Linked DNA regions of Homo sapiens: all the other regions are linked to region 2. The links are contacts of gene promoters, found by promoter capture Hi-C in blood cells and fetal thymus (Javierre and others, 2016). All regions are on one chromosome and are shown on one strand. Each heading gives the region's core, a stretch centred on a gene start or on the middle of the fragment in contact. The rest is flanking DNA. Distances are from core to core; before and after follow the strand shown. Region 1 holds the start of F2R (coagulation factor II thrombin receptor). Region 2 holds the start of S100Z (S100 calcium binding protein Z). Region 3 holds the start of F2RL2 (coagulation factor II thrombin receptor like 2).

Region 1 (3,333 bases), core at 597-3,096, 130 kb before region 2:
GTTTCTTACAATCATTGGTATGTCACATTTTTTTCTGGCTTGTGGTAATGGGTTAAAATGATAAATTGTAAAATCAATGACGTCTTAGGAATAATGAAAAATAGTTTAATAGTGAATGAAGAACTATGTAATTTTAACTGTTCACATTTACTCTTGGGTATGTTTCCAGAGGATAACTGAACGGGGATAGATTTTAAAAAGCTTTATTTAACTGGGTACTTCCGCAATTTAGTGATCAACTTCTGTGTACAACAAGGTACTGTCCTTTGAGGATGATGGGAGAATACAGGGAAGAACGAAATCGCCTCTGATCGTACTTTCTCCACGGATGTAAGTGTCCGGGCTCTAGTGGGGGAATGATACTCTTCGTGCGAAATTCACTTTTAAAAAAGGCTTAGAAAACTGACCACCGGCTCTCAGCTGCAGCTTATCAACCACAGAACTCCGAATATGCCCGCACATCAGTGCGCTGGGTTAAGAGGAGAAGGGGCTGCGGCTGAGCTTTCCTAGAAACAGCTATTTGGGGACCCATTTCCTGTTGGAGTCTGAAAGGCGCACGCACCAGAGCCAGTGGCAAAGCAACTTAAGCTGCAGGCTCCTCCTGCCCACCCCCAGCCGCGACGCCCCTGGGGGCCCTTAGCAGACTGCCAAGCGAGTGTCCCCGCCCTGTGCCTTGAATTTAGCCAAACTCCTTTAATATCAGGCCTGGCGCGGTGATTCACGCCTGTAATCCCCGCACTTTAGGAGGCTGAGGCAGGAGGATCGCTTGAGGCCAGCAGTGAAATTAGCCGGACATGGTGGCGCGCGCCTTTCTGTGGTCCCAGGTAATCCGGAGGCTGGGGCGAAAGGGTGGCCTGAGCCAGGGAGATCGAGGCTGCAGTGAGCCGTGTTGGCGCCACTGCACTCCAGCCTGGGCGACAGGGCAAGACCCTGCCTCAAAAACAAAACAAACTGTAATATCGTTCAAGAACGTGTGAAGGACACTTGGAAAGTTACCAGGCCATTTCTCTCCTGGGCGCCCGCGGCCCTAGAACGCCGGCCTCACCGGCAGACGCGCGCCCTCCTCCCAGATGCGCAGGTGACCCCGGCGGGCGGCGCGGGAAAGGGAAGAGCTCCGCGAGGCCGCGCGGGGGGGAAGCGGGAGAAGCCGCTCTTCCTATTCCACTCGCAGTCTGCGTGTGGGGGAAACGAGTGCCCGGCGTATGAAACGCCTAACTTCGCGAAATAAAGAGAGACGTATAAAAGTTCAAGAATTCTGTCCAGACTCAAGGGCCCTTTCTCATTTAGGGGCAACCCTGTCACTACATCATAAACTTTTAAATCCGTGATCCCCACGTTACAAAAGCAGAAGTCCCTTTTAGACTTTTAGCGAAAACTGAACTTTGCCGGTGTCCCACACGGAGGGAGGGAGGACGGGAGGCCACGCCAGGGCTGCGGGGCTGCAGGGCGTGGACGCATCCTGGCCGGGGCGTCCACTGTCGACGTCTCCACATCCCAGGAGGGTCGAGACGGCCGCGGGAAGCAGCCTGCGAGCCGTGCGGCCCCATTCCAAGGACCCCGCCAGTGTGAGTCACTGACAGCTTCGCGAATCAACGGTGCCCAGAGGAAAAAACTTCTCATTTGGACTTCTAGGCCCGGCAGTGGCCGGCGGCCAGGGCCCCCCAGTAGGGCAGGGCGGGGCGGGGCGGGGCGCACAGAGCCAGAGGGGCTTGCGAGCGGCGGCTGAGGGACCGCGGGGAGGGGGCGCCGAGCGGCTCCAGCGCAGAGACTCTCACTGCACGCCGGAGGGCGCCCTTCCTCGCTCGCGCCCGCGCGACCGCGCGCCCCAGTCCCGCCCCGCCCCGCTAACCGCCCCAGACACAGCGCTCGCCGAGGGTCGCTTGGACCCTGATCTTACCCGTGGGCACCCTGCGCTCTGCCTGCCGCGAAGACCGGCTCCCCGACCCGCAGAAGTCAGGAGAGAGGGTGAAGCGGAGCAGCCCGAGGCGGGGCAGCCTCCCGGAGCAGCGCCGCGCAGAGCCCGGGACAATGGGGCCGCGGCGGCTGCTGCTGGTGGCCGCCTGCTTCAGTCTGTGCGGCCCGCTGTTGTCTGCCCGCACCCGGGCCCGCAGGCCAGGTGAGAGATGCACGGGAATGGGGTGCGCGGGCGGAGGGACGCCGAGGGGAGACTGCGGGGGTCACTGTTGCGCCTTCTCCTCACCCCTGCCTCAGTTTCCTCCGAAAGCCAAACTGGCATTTGGGCTGAGATCTGGAGTTTTTTCCAGTCACGTTTAGGTGGGGCGTGCCACCCCCTTCGCGGGCCCAGCCGATGCCCCTTTGGACTCGATCTTGGAGGGTGCAGCCCGCCTGCCACGGGGTGTTGGATATGGAGGAGGATGGAGCGGAAGCCCCCTGGGGGAGCCTGCAGTCCTGCGTTGCACTTGTCATTGTGTTTCTCCCAGGACCACCCCCAAAAAGAAAAGCTCTCACGTTGCTCCACCAATAAACGTTTCGATCTTTAAAATATAAAGTGGCGAACCGCTGCCGCTGAAGTTTTGCTTTGTTGGAAGTTTTTTTCTTGCACATTTTACAGGCGAGAAAAGTGATGTAGAGAAAAGCCCAGGCAGTCCCTTGGCATGTTTAGCAGAGAATCAGTACCAGCAGCCCCCGGCCCGGCCTTGTGTCCAGGAGGTGCGCAGGGTGCGAGATATATGGTGACAATAGCAGAGGCTCCGCGTGGTGGCGGGGGAGGGGACATGGAGAGGATTTTGTTGTTACCTAGAACCCATTCCTTCTAAGTGAGTTGAAGAGAGAGATCCCTCCCCAGGACCGGGCTCCCTCGAACACTGTGGGATCCCAGTATTTCTTAACGAGATTTCTGATCCACTGCAAGAAGGTTGCTCCCCTAGAATATTTTCCCCACTAGTAGTCTATTTTTAAGTATCTGGCCACTTGACCAAATAAATAAATTTGATTAATTTATTTGGTCAAATATTTTCTGTATCCCTTTCCCCAAGAGCAGCACAGATGAGTTGTTTTTAGCCTGTAAAGGCGCTAATTAGAAAGTGAGAAAAGTGTTTTTGAATTTCCTAATAACAATAGTATTTTATAAGCTTTGAGCCATTTTTTTTACGCTGAAAGAAGTTCTAGCGGGTTTTCTTGTTATCGCTAAAAGAATGTGCACTCTATATTGCTCCCACACTCAAAAAAAAGTGTAGACACATCAAGATTAAGAGGTGACAAAGACATAGCATGTTCTCGCCTCTCTGTCTTTGTTCAGGGTGAGTTTTGAGATGCTTTTGGGAAAACTAAGAGCTCCAGACTGGGGCCCAGTGTTTAGCAGTAACTAGCCTG
Region 2 (3,085 bases), core at 93-2,592:
TTGAGGTTGCAGAGAGCTGTGATTGTGTCTCTGTACTCTACCCTAGGCAATGGAGCAAGACTCTGTCTCCAAAAAAAAAAAAAAAAAATTTATCTTTGAATTCTTTCTTTCAATATATTGTTATCTGTATTTCTGTACTGAGTGCTGTGCTTCTTGACCTGTCTCTGCCCTTTTCTGTGTATTTATTTATTTAATTGACAAGTAAAAATTGTATATATTATGGTATACAAATACAGCTTGATGTTTTAATTTATGTATACATTGTGGAATTATTAAGTCAAGCTATTTGACTTAATTGCCCCATATACTTGTCATTTTTTGGGGGTGATAAAGACACTTAACATCTACTGTCTTAGCAATTTTCGATACACGATATATTGTTATTAACTATAGATAGCATGCTGTACAATGGGAGCTCTTAAACTTATTCCTCCTGGGCCAGGCGCAGTGTCTCACGCCTATAATCCCAGCACATTGGGAGGCCAAGGTGGGCGGATCACTTGAGGTCAGGAATTCAAGACCAGCCTCACCAACATGGTGAAACCCCATCTCTACTGAAAATACAAAAATTAGCCAGGCTTAGTGGTGGGCGCTTGTAATCTCAGCTACTTGGGAGGCTGAGGCAGAAGCTTGAACCAGGGAGGTGGAGGTTGCAGTGAGCTGAGATGATGCCACTGCACTCCAGCCTGGGTGACAGAGCAAGACTCTGTCTCAAAAAAAAAAAAGAAAAAAAGAAATGCTGTGAGGAATTATTAGCCATGAAGCTTCAGCAGGCAGGTTAGGTAGCTTTTCCAGTCACATACTGGTGAAGTAAGGATTTGAACCCCAAGACTCTGGTGCCAGAGTAATTGCTCTTCACCATGAGGAGGCACCAGTGGGGGAGTGTTGGATCACAAGCAGTTTCTTTTTCTTTTTTTTTTGTTTTTTTGAGACGGAATCTGGCTCTGTCACCTAGTCTGGAGGGCAGCGGCGAGCTCAGCTCACTACAACCTCTGCCTCTCAGGTTCAAGCGTTCTCCTGCTTCAGCCTCACGAGTAGCTGGAATTACAGGCGCCCGCCACCATGCCTGGCTAATTTTTATATTTTTAGTAGAGATGGGGTTTCGCCACGTTGACCAGGCTGGTCTCAAACTCCTGACCGCAAGTGATCCACCCACCTCAGCCTCTCAAAGTGCTGGGATTAGAGGCATGAGCCACTGCACCCAGCGCAATTTCGTTAGAGACTTGGTGCCTTCCCATTTCTTTTACTCAGCAATATACCAGCTTTAGGTCCTAAATTAAACCTCTTCCTGCTTTCCCACCTGATGAAGAAACGTGCCTGCAGTGTGGTGAGTCTGGACCACGCAGACTCAGAACAGCACTACTCACAGCAGGGCCTCTTGCTCGCTCTAGCTGCTGGGAGGAAAACGGCTTGCTAATCTCCACGCCCAGAAATTCAGACAAGAGCATTCTCCTTATCTCATCTGCACAGGAAGCAGGTCTAAGGTAAAAGATTATTTTTGTGGAAGATTCTTGCTTTTCAGTCTAGTGGTTGAAGTGTGAGCCTGGCAGGCGTTGGATTAGAGAGGGCAACAAGAGTGGAGGTTGTGAGGTGGGGGGTTGCCTTGGGGCTTCCACTCTAAAATGTGGCCTTACCTTGGCCACAAAGGGGTCGGGGGGGTGGGGGAGAGAGAGAGAGAGAGAGAGAGGGAGAGAGCAGCCTGATCATAGCTCGGAGCGTAGAGGTTCTGGTAAGTTCCTTGCCCTAAAGAACACTTAGTTCATTCTGGCTCCTTTCCTGGTGACCATCCTGGCTTCCTGCTTGGCCTTCACCTCACCTTGAGAAATTCAAGTTTCATGTTCTTGTCCAGGCCAAAGACCCAGAAGAACCTTCAAGGTGAGGCTTGGCCCCTTAGATCCACGCCGTGATTTCGCTTCTTTTTCCTGAAGCCTGCACAGATGCCAGTGTAAGCCCACTCCCAGGAAGTCACAGCAGTGGTCTATGCTCCTCCTCTTCACACTGGCCAGTGCTGGGCATGCCTGGACAATCAGCCCTGGAATGGCTGCTCTCAGCCTACAGAAGAAGAGAGGGAAGAGGGATGGAGGGGCTGGGGAGAAGTTGGTGAGAGGACACAAAATTTGGGTTAGACAGAGAAATAAAGTTTTTTTTGTTTTTTGTTTTTTTCTGAGATGGAGTTTCACTCTGTCACCCAGGCTGGAGTGCAGTGGTGTGATCTCAGCTCACTGCAACCTCCACCTCCCACTTGGCTTCCCAAAGTGCTGCGATTACAGGCATGAGCCACCGCTCCCCAGCCTCCTCATGGGATTTTTGAGGATGACATAAAGGAATACATTTAAACTGCCTAGAAGGGTGCTTGGCCCAGAGTATGTGCTAATTAACGTTGGCTACTATTATTTTCCTTCAACCCAGTGCCGGTGCAGGTCTAGAGGAAAGCATGAGGTGATACAGGGGCACCCAGAGGCGGAGTGCTCCCAGGAGCTGAGGGGCATCGGAGGCTTCCCTGGAGGACTGGCACCTGAGCAGAGGAATGGGCAGCACAGTGGCAGTGCCACGTGTGCGGCACAGATGGTGCAGAGGGGATGGGTGGGCACACTGCGGGGAGTTTAGATTTAGCCAGGGGATGGCAGGGCCTGTCCAGGAGGTTAAGTGAGGAGCTCAGGTGTGCCTCCCAGCAGGCAGGGGAGGCTAATTTTGAAGAAGAGCAAAGTAGGTGCAGGAGGTGAGTTGGGATCTCATGCAGTAATTCAGGCCAGAAGTGACAAGGGCCTGAACTATGGCGCTAGGGTTGAGGAGGAAGGAACAGAGAGTGAGGAGATACAACCTGGCAACTGATTGCATGAGAGAGAGAGAGGGGCCAGGAATAGCATCATACTCAGGTTTCTGGCCATGCAGTTGGGTGAATGAGGGTATTGCTGTTGACTGGAGCAGCAAAAAAAGGGGATCCCCTCTGGGGTAGAGGAAGAAGGGAGCAGGGGATTGGAAAATGCCAAAATCAGTTTGCTGTGGTTTGGAATCTGAGACTCTGATGTGTTACCTAAGTGGAGATGTCCTGTGGTCAGTTTATTTATACTCTCCTGGGTCCTAG
Region 3 (3,266 bases), core at 633-3,132, 230 kb before region 2:
GAATGGTGCCTGAAGAGCATGCCGTACAAGTTATTAGCCTGATTTTAAAAAGCTGTTAAAACCAAGTGTTTGTCCGTTTTCAGAAAGTTTCTGGGATTTAGCAAGACATCATGCCTCCAGACATGCCAAACAGTGCCTGTGTTTTGTGGAAAAGTTGATTTGATTCCATTTTCCGTGAGAATGCCAGATCTGGGTCCACTTAAATAAGGCTTTTATTCCTCAGAGCCTGGTTTTCCTTATGAATTGTACTCATTGTTAAATTTTTTTATTGTATTTTAATTCTTTATAGAGGCTTCCATTGGGCATAATATTTCGGAAATGTTTTTCTATCCGGGAAAAGGCCTTGAAGAACTAATCCAAAGAGAATGAACTCCGGCCTCTCAGGGGTGTCCAAGGGAGAGAATACAGTCATGGATTCATAGTTTCTGTTTCTAGTTGAGCCAGTAAAGCCCCTTCCTCATCCCTCTTTTCCATTTACCTCTAGAGACAGAAACTAAAAACCATGGCTTCAGGCTGCTAAAAGCCTAAAACAAAACAAAACCACAACGAAATAAGGCAGGTTGGACAAGCTTGCTTCATTCTTCCTTCACATTTCTCCCCCACCCCATGGAAGAAAGCAAATTCACTGCCTCTTTGTTTCCTTCAGAGGCCCCCGTTTTCACCTCCATCAAACCCTATTAGCGTCTTGAAGGAACCACCCCCGAAAACCTTGCTTCTTTTGCAATTCTGCTTCTCAACATATTGGCCCATCTACTCCCAGAAAGAGCGTGCACTTATTATATTCATAAATCCCACATGTGCTTACTGCTAATCACCACAGATTCTCTTAGAGCTCTCTGCAACCGCTCAGGGATTCCAAATGTGAATTTAAGCAATGTTCCTTTAGAAAGCATTGATTTCTGTTTTTGTTTCCCTTGCTATGTCCAGTCTTTGCCTCTCCCACTCCTAACAATGTTGACTGGAGTGTGTGACCTAACAAAGAGTAACAGGTACAGACCTATCCCAAATTTGTTATTTTTGGAAAAAGCAGGAGGTTTCAGGCTAACATTGTGATGGGTAAAGTGGAAAGTACATTCAAAGTTGAATAATAGTATTTGGGAGACCTTATTTTTAAAATTAAAAAATCATATATGAGGGTAGGGAGAACTCCCCACTTAAAGTCAAAAAAGGTCATTCATTTCGGAAATACTGACTTATTAGCATTGCCAGCTATTGAAAGCAGATGACTTTCTCTTTCTGGCAGTATTCTTGTTTCTCCCATTTATGTCTCACCAAGAGGTTTAAACACAGGATATATATTTTAATCCCTAGAAAAAGTGCCATCTTTGCTTAACCAGAAGAGAAATTCTTACAAACACAAAAACGACTTTCAAAATTGCTCCCTGACTTAATCGTAGACATCTAAAATCTTGAATATGCCACACATTTTTAAACATCAGGAGGGAACACTTAGTCTATGACCAGGTTTGAATAGAGTGAATGAACTATAGATGTTCATTTCCATGATTCTACCTTTTAATAATAAAGATCAAACTGCCTTTGGGGTTTACAGTTTGTGTGAGATGCAAAGAAACCTAGGTTCAGTTGACTCTTAATTTGTAACAGAAACCCACATCCCCATCCTACCCCCTGAGAAAATTGCTTACCACTCTGACAAAAAGTGGGCAACAGAAGCAGGAGGCCAGCAGCTGCAAAGATGAGGGCTTTCATTTTGATGACCTGAGTCCCGTCTCTTAAACGTTATGAAATCTGTAAAATCATGGAGCACAATTTCACCTCAGTTCCATGTGTCAGCAGCAAATGGAAGCCTTGGTCTGTCTGTAGAAGTTTGCTCTCCTGTGCCGTGCAGGCAGGAAACTTGCCCTGGTCCTCCGCAGGGAAAGGATGTAATCCACTCGATGCTTCAGTAAGCATGACTCAGGCCAAGCCTCTGAACGTGTTACGTTATCCCTGGAGAAAGGCATTTAACTCTTACCCACCCCCAACAATCTATTCTGAATAGGTGCTGTAATTCTCCCCTAGTAGATTTGCTTTTAAAGAATGGCAGAAATTACACAGGCCTTTACAGAACTAAGCCAAAAACAGATGTTGAACAGCAGTAAGTTTTGAATCTGTCCCACATTTCATTTCTTATCCGTTTTAAAAATGCAGTTCCAGAGTGTAATTTCTACTTAATAAATTATCCTTTCCTTTATCTTCCCAGCTATTTCAAATCTTAATCCTTAAACACTTTACATAATTATAAATTAATCATGGAAAACAAACTTTTAAGAAATTCAAATTGAGCGGTGAATCACTTTGAAAATTTTCCATCAATGTAATATTGATTTCAGTTTGTCGTCAGTGCCTGGCCAGAACCTGGCTTTTGAGTGGTGGTGGTTTTTCTTCGCCGGGTGAGGATGGCGTTTGTTCAGGCTTTTTTTTTTTTTTTTGCCTTATCTTGATGTGTTTTGAGCCATTCAATAACCCTTAGGGTCAGATAACTGGAGGAACCTCCCAAACAACGCTGTTCAGTTAAACTAAAATCATAGCACATCATGAAAATGAGGACTCCCTTTATTCCATGAGTGTTGGTGAATAAGTCTACAATAAGATATTTTTAATAGTGGTAAAATATACGTAACATAAAATTTACTATCTTAACCAGTATTAAGTGTACAGTTCAGTAATGTTAAATACATTCACATTGTTGTACAACATATAAGCTTTTATGAATTGTTATATTCTGTAGAGTATGACTTAATATACAGTAAAAAAATGCATTATAACACATTTTTCTGTAGTTAATAAAACTTAAACTTGAAGCCTGACCATCCCACAGCCTGCTCTTTACAAAATGCAGCAAGAATCAGAAAATACAAATTTCACATGAGACTTAAAGGCTAGGGATATGCTAGGAAGAAATTGATCTGCGGAAACCTTTCACATCTTGATTAAATTACATTAGACCAAGATTTTTACAAAGGTCAGTGTTTAATACTTCAACTACATAATATATGGTTATACAAACTGAGATAGAATGTTATTATATTGCAGAAATATAAAACCTAAAATATTGACAAAGGTTTTTTTTGTTTCATTAGAACTTTTCTGGGAGTTATCTAAATTCAGGAATTTATGACTTGATTTGCACATGGCCTAGTTTCTGGTCATTTAATTCATTTGTAACTCTTATGTTGAACCTGGCTGTTTAACTGAAGTGGAGGTGTGGCCGTCCCATAAATATACTATTATTTTCAGTCTTCTGGTGAACAACTGAAAAAGCA

Evidence for each region. The method cuts DNA at HindIII sites, captures the fragments that hold promoters and counts their contacts. A CHiCAGO score of 5 or more calls a contact.
Region 1: a contact is called between the fragment with the promoter of F2R here and the fragment with the promoter of S100Z in region 2, in 13 of 17 cell types (monocytes, erythroblasts, M0 macrophages and 10 more). The highest score is 10.5, in monocytes.
Region 3: the fragment with the promoter of F2RL2 here is called in contact with the fragment with the promoter of S100Z in region 2 in 4 of 17 cell types (endothelial precursors, neutrophils, monocytes and 1 more); the score reaches 8.2 in endothelial precursors.

The regions. Positions count from the first base shown.
Region 1 is chr5:76,714,280-76,717,612 of GRCh38, forward strand. F2R (coagulation factor II thrombin receptor) reads left to right here and starts at 1,847. Exons shown (of 2, transcript NM_001992.5): 1 at 1,847-2,116. The coding sequence starts at 2,029. RefSeq lists a silencer at 1,653-1,902. The HindIII fragment of the contact is 2,891 bases long and covers 200-3,090 here.
Region 2 is chr5:76,848,672-76,851,756 of GRCh38, forward strand. S100Z (S100 calcium binding protein Z) reads left to right here and starts at 1,343. Exons shown (of 5, transcript NM_130772.4): 1 at 1,343-1,484. The HindIII fragment of the contact is 3,987 bases long and covers 763-3,085 here.
Region 3 is chr5:76,621,521-76,624,786 of GRCh38, forward strand. It overlaps F2RL2 (coagulation factor II thrombin receptor like 2), which reads right to left and starts at 1,883. Exons shown (of 2, transcript NM_004101.4): 1 at 1,647-1,883. The coding sequence starts at 1,710. The region is part of intron 13 of IQGAP2 (IQ motif containing GTPase activating protein 2); the gene reads left to right. RefSeq lists a silencer at 1,664-1,958. The HindIII fragment of the contact is 2,136 bases long and covers 568-2,703 here.